Linked DNA regions of Homo sapiens: region 1 is linked to region 2. Evidence: promoter capture Hi-C in 16 types of primary human blood cells and fetal thymus (Javierre and others, 2016). All regions are on one chromosome and are shown on one strand. The core of a region is centred on a gene start or on the middle of the fragment in contact, and the rest is flanking DNA. Distances in the headings are between cores, read along the strand shown.

Region 1 (4,693 bases), core at 1,674-4,173, 130 kb before region 2:
GACCCTTTCCCTACAAAAAATTGCCAGGCATAGGGTAGTGCACTTACAGTCCCTGGTACTTGGGAGGTTGGGGCAGAAGAATCACTTGAGCCCAGAAGTTTGAGGCTGTCATGAGCTGTGATCATGCCACTGCAGCCCAGCTTGGGTGACAGTGGGACCCATCTTAACAAATAAAATGTGAAAAAGTATGTTTATGGCAACTTTATTCATAATATCCAAAAAACTGGATTCATCCTCAATGCCTATCAACAAATAAATGGATAACATTTGGTATATTCATACAAAAGGGTACCACTCAGAATGAAACAGAACAAACTGGCCAGGCACGGTGACTCACGCCTATAATCCCAGCACTTTGGGAGCCCAAGGTGGGTGGATCACGAGGTCAGGACATCGAGACCATCCTGGCTAACACAGTGAAACCCTGTCTCACTAAAAAATACAAAAAAAATTAGCCGGGCGTTGTGGGAGGCACCTGTAGTCCCAGGTACTCGGGAGGCTGAGGCAGGAGAATGGCATGAACCCAGGAGGCAGAGCTTGCAGTGAGCTAAGATTGCGCCACTGTGCTCCAGCCTGGGCGACACAGCGAGACTCCGTCTCAAAAAAAAAAAAAAAAATTAACTGGGTGTGGTGGTGTGCACCTGTAGTCCCAGCTACTTGGGAGGCTGAGGCAGAAGAATCACCGGAACTGGAAGGTGGAGGGCAGAGGTTGCAGTGAGCCGAGATTGCATCACTGCACTCCAGCCTGGGTGACAGAGCAAGACTCCATCTCGGAAAAAAAAAAAAAAAGAAAAGAAAAGAAAAAGAACACACTACTGATAACATGCAACAACATGGATGAATTTCAGAAGCATATTGAGTGAAAAGACAGGCCAAAAAAATGGTATATTTATATAAAGTTTTGGAACAGGCAAAGCTTAACTATAGCAGGAGAAAGCAGATCAGTGGTTACGTGGCATTGGGGATGGGGGTGAGAAGGGTTTGACTGCAAAGGCACCAGAAGGAACATTCTGTGGTGATGGAAATGTTGATTGTGGTGGTTACACAGTTGTTTATATTTGTCAAAATACATTGAATCATAAACTAGACATGTGAATTTTTTTTTTTTTTTTGAGATTGAGTCTTGCTCTGTTGCCCAGGCTGGAGTGCAGTGGCACCATCTAGGCTCACTGCAACCTCTGCCTCCTGGGTTCAAGCTATCCTCCTGCCTCAGCCTCCTGAGTAGCTGGGATTACAGGCATGCGCCACCACGCCTGGCTAATTTTTGTACTTTTAGTAGAGACGGGGTTTCGCCATGTTGGCCAGGCTTGTCTCGAACTCCTGACCTCAGGTGATCCACCCGCCTCTGCCTCCCAAAGTGCTGGAATTACAGGCGTGAACCACCGCGTCTGGCCGACATGTGAATATTTATTGTGTGTAATTTATACCTCAATATATTTGATTTTTTGTTTGTTTGTTTGTTTGTTTTAAGACAGAGTCTCACTCTGTCACCAGGCTGGAGGCATGATCTCAGCTCACTGCAATCTCTGCCTCCCTGGTTCAAGTGATTCCCCTGCCTCAGCCTCCCGAGTAGCTGGGACTATAGGCATGCACCACCATGCCTGGCTAATTTTTTGTATTTTAGTAAAGACAGGGTTTTACCATGTTGGCCAGGATGGTCTCTATCTCCTGACCTCGTGATCTGCCTGCCTTGGCCTCCCAAAGTGCTGGGATTACAGGTGTGAACTACCGTGGCCGGCCTGGAGTAGGTGAATTTTTAAAATATTTAAGAGAAAAAATAAACAATAACTGATGATTAAGGAGAGAGGTTAGAAGAAGTCAAAGACAGGTCTCAGGTTTCTGGCATGTAAAACAGCAGAGGGTGGTGCTATTTACTTATTGGATAAGGAACACTGCAAGAGAGAGAAAGATCACTGTTAGGACTACCAGAATCTATTTCTTTTTTTTTCTTTTTCTTTTTTTTTTTTTGGTCCTTTAGGGGTTCTAAAACAACGTACAAAAATACATTAGTTTGCCCAGCTGCCTATCAGGATATTTATTGGCACATGTACCCAATAGGCCTGGGGAGTTGAATAAAGGATTATCCATGCAAGTATAAATTAGAAAGACAAATTTCAAAAATGATTTTATCAACCAAACTTCCCTCTCTCACTTCCAAATCCTATATCTCCTCCTATTAAGAGGATTTATCTAAGAGGAGCCATTTGGGTGGAATTGTGAAAGCAGAAGCTGGAGTGGAGCGGTAGAGGCTGAAAAAAAGAATACGAGCATTCGAGACCAGCCTGGGCAACACGGCAAAACCCCGTCTCTACAAAACAGAGTGGGGTGTGGCGGAGCTACCTGTGGTCCCCTCTACTCAAGGGACTGAGGTGGGAGGATCACTTGAGCCCAGGAGCCGGAGGTTGCAGTGAGCTGAGATGGTGCCACTGCAGTCTAGCCTGGCTGACAGAGTGAGACCTGGTCTAACAATAATAATAAGAGTTCTCTAGCAAGCAGACTCAGAATAAATAAATAAATAGGAAGAATAAGAGGTGAGGAAAGGCTAACAGCATGGAGTCAGGCTGGAGAGACACATAAGGCCAATAAGTACAAGTACTCTCACCATGATGCCCGGGCTGGTCTCGAGCTCCTGGACTCAGGCAATCCTCCAGCCCCAGCCTCCTGAAGTGCTGGGATTACAAGCATAAACCACTATGCCCAGCTTTACATTTGATTTTAAAACACATATTCCAATTTTCTCCAAAATGAATTATTTCTGAAATAAAGTCTGATTTAGAAACTGATCCATTTGGCTGGGCAGGGTGGCTCACACCTGTAATCCCAGCACTTTGGGAGGCCAAGGTGGGTGGATCACTTCAGGACAGGAGTTCGAGACCAGCCTGACCAGCATGGTGAAACCCCGTCTCTTATAAAAATACAAATATTAGCCAGGCGTGGTGGCACATGCCTGTTGTCCCAGCTACTCCGGAGACTGAGAATCGCTTGAACCCAGAGGTGGAGGTTGTAGTGAGCCGAGATTGTGCCACTGCTCTACAGCAGGGCAGACAAAGTGAGGCCTTGTCTCAAAGTTTTTTTGATATTAGATTGCTGTGATTTTTGGGCATATAACTCAGAGTTCAAAGAATTTAATGCCATTGCAATGAAGAAACGCTTTCTATTCCCATATAATTATTTTTAGATACAGAATCTCACTTTGTTGCCTAGGCTGAAGTACAGTTGATACAGGAGTTAAGAATAAATTACTTAGGCAGCTAGTAAGGGAATGGGAGTCCTTAGTAAGGCTTTTCTTTTCTTTTTTTTTTTTTTTTTTTTTTTTTTTTTGAGACGGAGTCTCGCTCTGTCCCCCAGGCTGGAGTGCAGTGACGCAATCTCGGCTCACTGCAAGCTCCGCCTCATGGGTTCACGCCATTCTCCTGCCTCAGCCTCCCGTGTAGCTGGGACTACAGGCGTCCACCACACATGGCTAATTTTTTGTATTTTTAGTAGAGACGGGGTTTTACTGTTTTAGCCAGGATGGTCTCGATCTCCTGACCTTGTGATCTGCCTGCCTCGGCCTCCCAAAGTGTTGGGATTACAGGCGTGAGCCACCGCTCCCAGCCTCTTTTTTATTTTTTGGAGACAGAGTCTCACTCTGTCACCCAGGCTGGAGTGCAGTGGCACGACCTCAGCTCACTGCAACCTCCGCCTCCCAGGTTCAAGCAGTCAGGATTTTCTTTTTAATAAAAAGCAGCCCCAAATCATTTTCTAACAAAGAGCAGCCTGTAAAATCCAGCCGCAGACACAGACAAGCAAGCTGGGAGCTTGCACAGGGGAACGCTGGCAGGAACTAGGAACTAGACATGTTCAAGATGGCGGCTCCATCTCCCCTTTTCTGCCAGCCACAGTACAGTAAGAAGCAGACAAGATGGCGCGGATCAACTGGAAAGTCTATTTGCATAATAAGATTAGGGTTAGGCAACCAGCCTTCCCTGCCATCATACCTGATGGAACCAATCTGTGAGGCCTATGTAAATCGGACACCACTTCCTCAAATCTAACTATTACATTTGGGGCATCTGGCAGGGCTCGGTGGCTCACGCCTGAAATCCCAGCACTTTGGGAGGCCGAGGCAGGTGGATCATCTGAGGTCAGAAGTTCAAGACCAGCATTACCAATATGGTGAAACCCTGTCTCTACTAAAAATAAAAAAATTAGCCGGATGTGATGGTGGGCACCTGTAGTCCCAGCTACTCGGGAGGCTGAGACAGGAGAATTGCTTGAACCCAGTAGCTGGAGGTCGCAGTGGGTCGAGATGGAGCCACTGCACTCCAGCCTGGGCCACAGAGTGAGATTCCTCTCAAAAAAGAAAAAAAAAAAATTGGTGTATTCACCACCCCTGGGTCTTTGCCACTTGGAGACTCCTTCCTCTGTAGAGGAAGCTGTTTCTCTTTCTTTTCTTCCTTTTAAACCTCTGCTCTTAAACTCCTTGTGTCTGTGTCCTAAATTTTCCTGGCACACGACAGTGAACCCCAGGGTATATACCCCAGACAAAACGTAGCCGATTCACAGTGACCTGATCATAGCTCACTGTAACGCTGGAATCCTGGTCTCAAGCAATCCTATCACCTCAACCTCCTGAGTAGCTAGGACTACAGGCATGTGCCACCATACCTGGCTACTTTTTTTTTTGATAGAGGCAGTGTCTCTATATTGC
Region 2 (4,682 bases), core at 1,364-3,863:
GTTAGAAAAATTTAATTAAAAACCACTGCTGTGAGCTAGGTGCAGTAGTTATGCCTATAGTAATCCCAGTGATTTGGGAGGCTGAGGTGGGAGGATGGCTTAAGGCCAGGAGTTTGAGACCAGCCTGGATAGACATAGTGAGAACTCATCTCTAAACAAACAAACAAATAAAACCAACAACAACCCACTGCTCTGAAGAAGAGAAGTCTAGTGGAGTTGCTTAAAGTGGTAAGTTCTTGAAAAGATGTATGGAAACAAACTGGGATATTTTAAACAGTATTTTTCAATTTACCTCATCTACTGCTCCAGTTCAGGTTCCATCATTTTCTACCTGAATCATTGTACCCTTCCTCCCTAACTCCTTATCTTCCTATCCTATACAATTTGTCTTCATTGCATTTATTGTTTTTTGTATATGTGAGACAAAGTAGCAAACATAAGAAGCCATGTCTGCTCATTCTGTTTACCAGCAGAATTTCACAAACTCTCTTGCCAGCAGAATTTCACAGCCTCAGTGACTGCGCACAGCCCTCCAGAATACCCTGAAAATATGCAGGATAGAGCACAAGTTCCCATGTCTCTTGCCTGAATCACTGCATTTTTAGAAAAGATAAATCCAATGATGCTCGACCTTGCCTCTTCCTGTACATTTCTGACAGGATTAATGACTATGCCTCCATAATCTATAAACATGTGTACTCTTCCACCTAAACCTTCATGAGATTTTGCTCTAGTGTAACTCCTGAGTACATTTTTTCTTTTTTATTAGAGACAAGGTCTTGCTCTGTCACCAGGCTAGAGTGCAGAGGCACAATCATAGTTCACTGTAACCTCAAACTCAGGAGTCCCAGCAATCCTTTTAACTCTGCCTCTCCTGTAGCTAGGACTACAGGGATGTTCTACCACGCCTTGCTTTTTTATGTGTGTGTGGAGACAGAGTCTTGATATGTTACACAGGCTGGTTGTAAATGCCTGGCCTCAAGCAATCCTTCTGCCTCAGCCTCCTTAATCACTGGGATTACAGGCCCAGCCTTTCTGAGCACATTTGATTTAACTTCCAAGCACATGCAGAGCGGCCACCACCTGTATAGAAGCTGCGGGCTGAAACACTGCTTTGGAGCAGTCTAAAAAAAAAACTCTCTGACTCTCCCAGGTGGCAGTCCTCAATAAGACTTCTGAAGAAAGCTAACTTGAATTATTTAAAAGCCTGATTTACTTTAGTTTACATATTTTACAGTTCCTTCCCATTAGGATGCAAGCTCCCCCAAGGCAAGGCTTTAAATTTTTGTTGTCGTTGTTTAGACAGGGTCTCACTGTGTCAACCAGGCTGGAGTGCAGTGTTGCAATCACGGCTCACTGCAGCCTCGACCTCCTGGACTCAAGCGTTCCTCCTGCCTCAGCCTCCTGAGTAGCTGGGACCACATGCACGCATCACCAAGCCTGGCTAATTTTAAAAAAGAATTTTGTACAGACGGGGGTCTCACCATGTTGTCCAGGCTGGTACCAAATTCCCAGGCTCAAAGCAATCCTCCCGCTTCGGCCTCCCAAAGTACTAGGATTATAGGTGTGAGCTATCACTATCACGCCCAGCCTAAGGCAAGTTTTGTTTTGTTCATGGTTGTATTCCTTGCATTTGGAACTCAGAAGAGGCCTCGAAAACCTTGAAGATACAGTAACTATCAACACATCTCCCTGCTTCACGTCTTTCCCCGCTCATTCGTATGTATGAGCTATGATCTCTTACCCCATGGTGTCAGTATAGTGCATCTTACTAATTTCAGCTGCTTTTTAGCTTTCATTTATGTTTGTATTTCCGTCACATTTTACATTGCTAACCAAAGACCACTGCTAGCGGGAAAAACTGGGAAAGGAGACTTGAAGGCAGCAGACGCTGCAGCTGCTCGATAAAAATTGGCCGAATTTAACAGGAGGCTGGAGGAGCTAAAAAACGTTTTCACACAGAAGAGTTAGCACATCCAGACTGGTCTTTTTAGCACTTTCTTAGGGCTTGAGGATGAAACCCCACCACTGTCGGGCCGACTGTAGGGTAGAGAAGAGCCAATTAGTATTTGCGGCGCTCGGGAGCAGCGTCCATCCGGCGGGTGTAGGAAAATACTTCCGGCGTTCTGGTTTTTTATGTGCTGAGTCACAGCCGAAGGCTCGCCCCGGGTCTGAGGAGTAGGGTACCCAAACTATGACACGAATGGGAAAATTTAAAACTTTGGAATTAATTCTCTGCACTCGTTTCTCAGTTTTCTCATTAGGGGAATATTTTTCTTTGACACGCGGAGCACTACTCAGTGGTTTCCACAAAACACACTCGTACGTCATAAACGCGCCGGGGGCCCTTCTCCCGTCGTCCTCCGCGCCACTCTCTCCGCTTCTTCTCCCTCGCCCCGCCCACTTTGGGTTTCGAAATGTTCGCTGGCTGTTCCGAGAATCAGTCCGGGTCACGTTGGTGCCTCTCCTTTCCTGTTCTGATTGGTTGCTTACGTGAGCGTGACTACTTTCTTGCCTCATGATTGGCTGAAATCAGTAGCGTCATCGGCGGCCGGGAGGGCGGAGGGACGAGGGAAGTCGGCGAGAGGGAGACTGGGTTGGGGGAGGGGTTCAGGCCTGTTCCCCGCGGCTGCGGCAGCACCAGGGCCGGCCGCCACCGCCTCTAGAACGCGGAGGAGGTGGGTCCTGGGAAGCGGGATGTCCATCGCTCCAGCTTGGTGGTGAATGCTGAGGAGAGTCACTGTTGCTGCAGTCTGTGCCACCCGGAGGAAGTTGTGTGAGGCCGGGCGGGAGCTCGCGGCGCTCTGGGGAATCGAAACGCGGGGTCGGTGCGAAGACTCTGCTGCTGCCAGACCCTTTCCTATTCTGGCCATGCCTGGAAGGAACAAGGCGAAGTCTACCTGCAGCTGCCCTGACCTGCAGCCCAATGGACAGGATCTGGGCGAGAACAGCCGGGTTGCCCGTCTAGGAGCGGATGAATCTGAGGAAGAGGGACGGAGGGGGTCTCTCAGTAATGCTGGGGACCCTGAGATCGTCAAGTCTCCCAGCGACCCCAAGCAATACCGGTGAGGGAGGAGGCTTGCAATGGGGAGGCGAACAGTGTGCCGGCTTCTCTGTCGGTGCCGCCGTCACTTCTTGTCTCCATGTCTCCCAATGGAGCAACAGGGCACACTTTCCACCCCAAATGCTTCCTTGGGTGGAGGTGGCAAGCGTGATTAGAGGCTTCCCTGTGGTGTCAGCTGGGCAAGTGGGAGATCTTGGGTTGTAAGACGTCAGAATGGGAGAAGCTTTTCGAGTCATTTGAATACAGTCGCTAAAGCAAGAATGAAGGTTTCTTTGAGGAACGCAGCCTGAATGGTGAGGGAGTCTTGGTATTATGTTACCAGGAAAGGTTGACGGAGTTGGATACTTTAATTTGGAGGACAGGATATTTAAGGGGCATATTATCACTATCCAAAATATTTGAGGGACACTTAAGTGATAGGTGAAACTAGTGGACGAAAGTTACCAGAGGATGGTGTGGCTTCAGTAAAGTAACTTTGCATCATATTTGGCCTAAGTTGAAGTGACTTGTTTCCATGGGTAGTTCTCCATTACCAAAACGGTTGGGCGACCTCGTCCAGGAATATATTAGAGAGGGCTTAGGTCTCAGTTGGGTGAGTTGTAAGGTTTCTTCTAACCTTGAAATTCTCTACTTTTGGTTTGTACAGGAGTTCTCTAAACATTTCTAATAATTGGTGATTCAGTCCCCACCTGAGTATTTTCCTTCAGAGGTAGCTTATTTCATGGAGTATCATGACTATGATGTATCTTGCGTGTGTGTGTGTGCGTGTGTGTTTTAATAAGAGTCTGGGTCTTGCGATGTTGCCCAGGCTAATTTCAAACTCCTGGGCTTAGGGAATCCTCCTGTCTTGGCCTCCCAAAGTACTGGGATTACAGGCGTGAGCCACTGTGCCAGGCCTGGACTTTGATGTATTTTAAATAGAGTTCATATTGTCCAATAACTTCGTTGAACAGGTTGAGGAAATTGAGACCCAAAGAGTTTGCTTCTTGCTCTGAATCACACAGCTAAATAATAACAGAGCTGGTATGATGACCCCTACTATCTGACACCAAATTCAGTGTATCATTTGCTGATTTCCTTTTTTTTTTTGAAACGGAGTCTTGCTGTGTCACCAGGCTGGAGTGCAGTGGCGCGATCTTGGCTCACTGCAACCTCCGCCTCCCGGGTTCAAGCGATTCTCCTGCCTCAGCCTCCCCAGTAGCTGGGACTACAGGTGCTCGCCACCACGCCCGGCTAATTTTTTGTATTTTTAGTGGAGACGGGGTTTCACCATATTGGCCAGGATGGTTTCGATCTCTTGACCTTGTGATCCGCCCGCCTCTTCTCCCAAAGTGCTGGGGTTACAGGCGTGAGCCACCCCGCCCAGCCCGTTTGCCGATTTTTTACAAATTTCTTGCTTATGTGAATTGAAAGCTGAAGGATTCTAGTTCTAAATTTGTTATAAGCCCCTACAGCGTTAGCGCAAGAAACAACCTTATAGATAATCTTTTCCACTTCCCACCACACCTCTTTGACAGATGACACTTAGCTCCAAGTTCAGGACCAACCTAATTTCTCCTTTCACTTCAAGTCTAGATATATTTTCTCCAGGCTGCCAGAGTCAAGAGATCTTTATAAA

Evidence for each region. Contacts are between HindIII fragments. The CHiCAGO score rates a contact against its expected background, and 5 or more counts as called.
Region 1: a contact is called between a fragment that was not itself captured here and the fragment with the promoter of NRDC in region 2, in 1 of 17 cell types (endothelial precursors). The highest score is 6.1, in endothelial precursors.

Annotation. Positions count from the first base shown.
Region 1 is chr1:52,009,084-52,013,776 of GRCh38, reverse strand. No RefSeq gene overlaps it. Among named protein-coding and RNA genes, the nearest start is that of RAB3B, 21 kb to the right of the region's middle. The HindIII fragment of the contact is 4,010 bases long and covers 919-4,693 here.
Region 2 is chr1:51,876,658-51,881,339 of GRCh38, reverse strand. It overlaps NRDC (nardilysin convertase), which reads left to right and starts at 2,613. Exons shown (of 31, transcript NM_001101662.2): 1 at 2,613-3,065. The coding sequence starts at 2,725. RefSeq lists silencers at 371-568, 2,526-2,575 and enhancers at 1,322-1,875, 2,266-2,445, 2,329-2,623, 4,292-4,682. The HindIII fragment of the contact is 5,345 bases long and covers 1-3,289 here.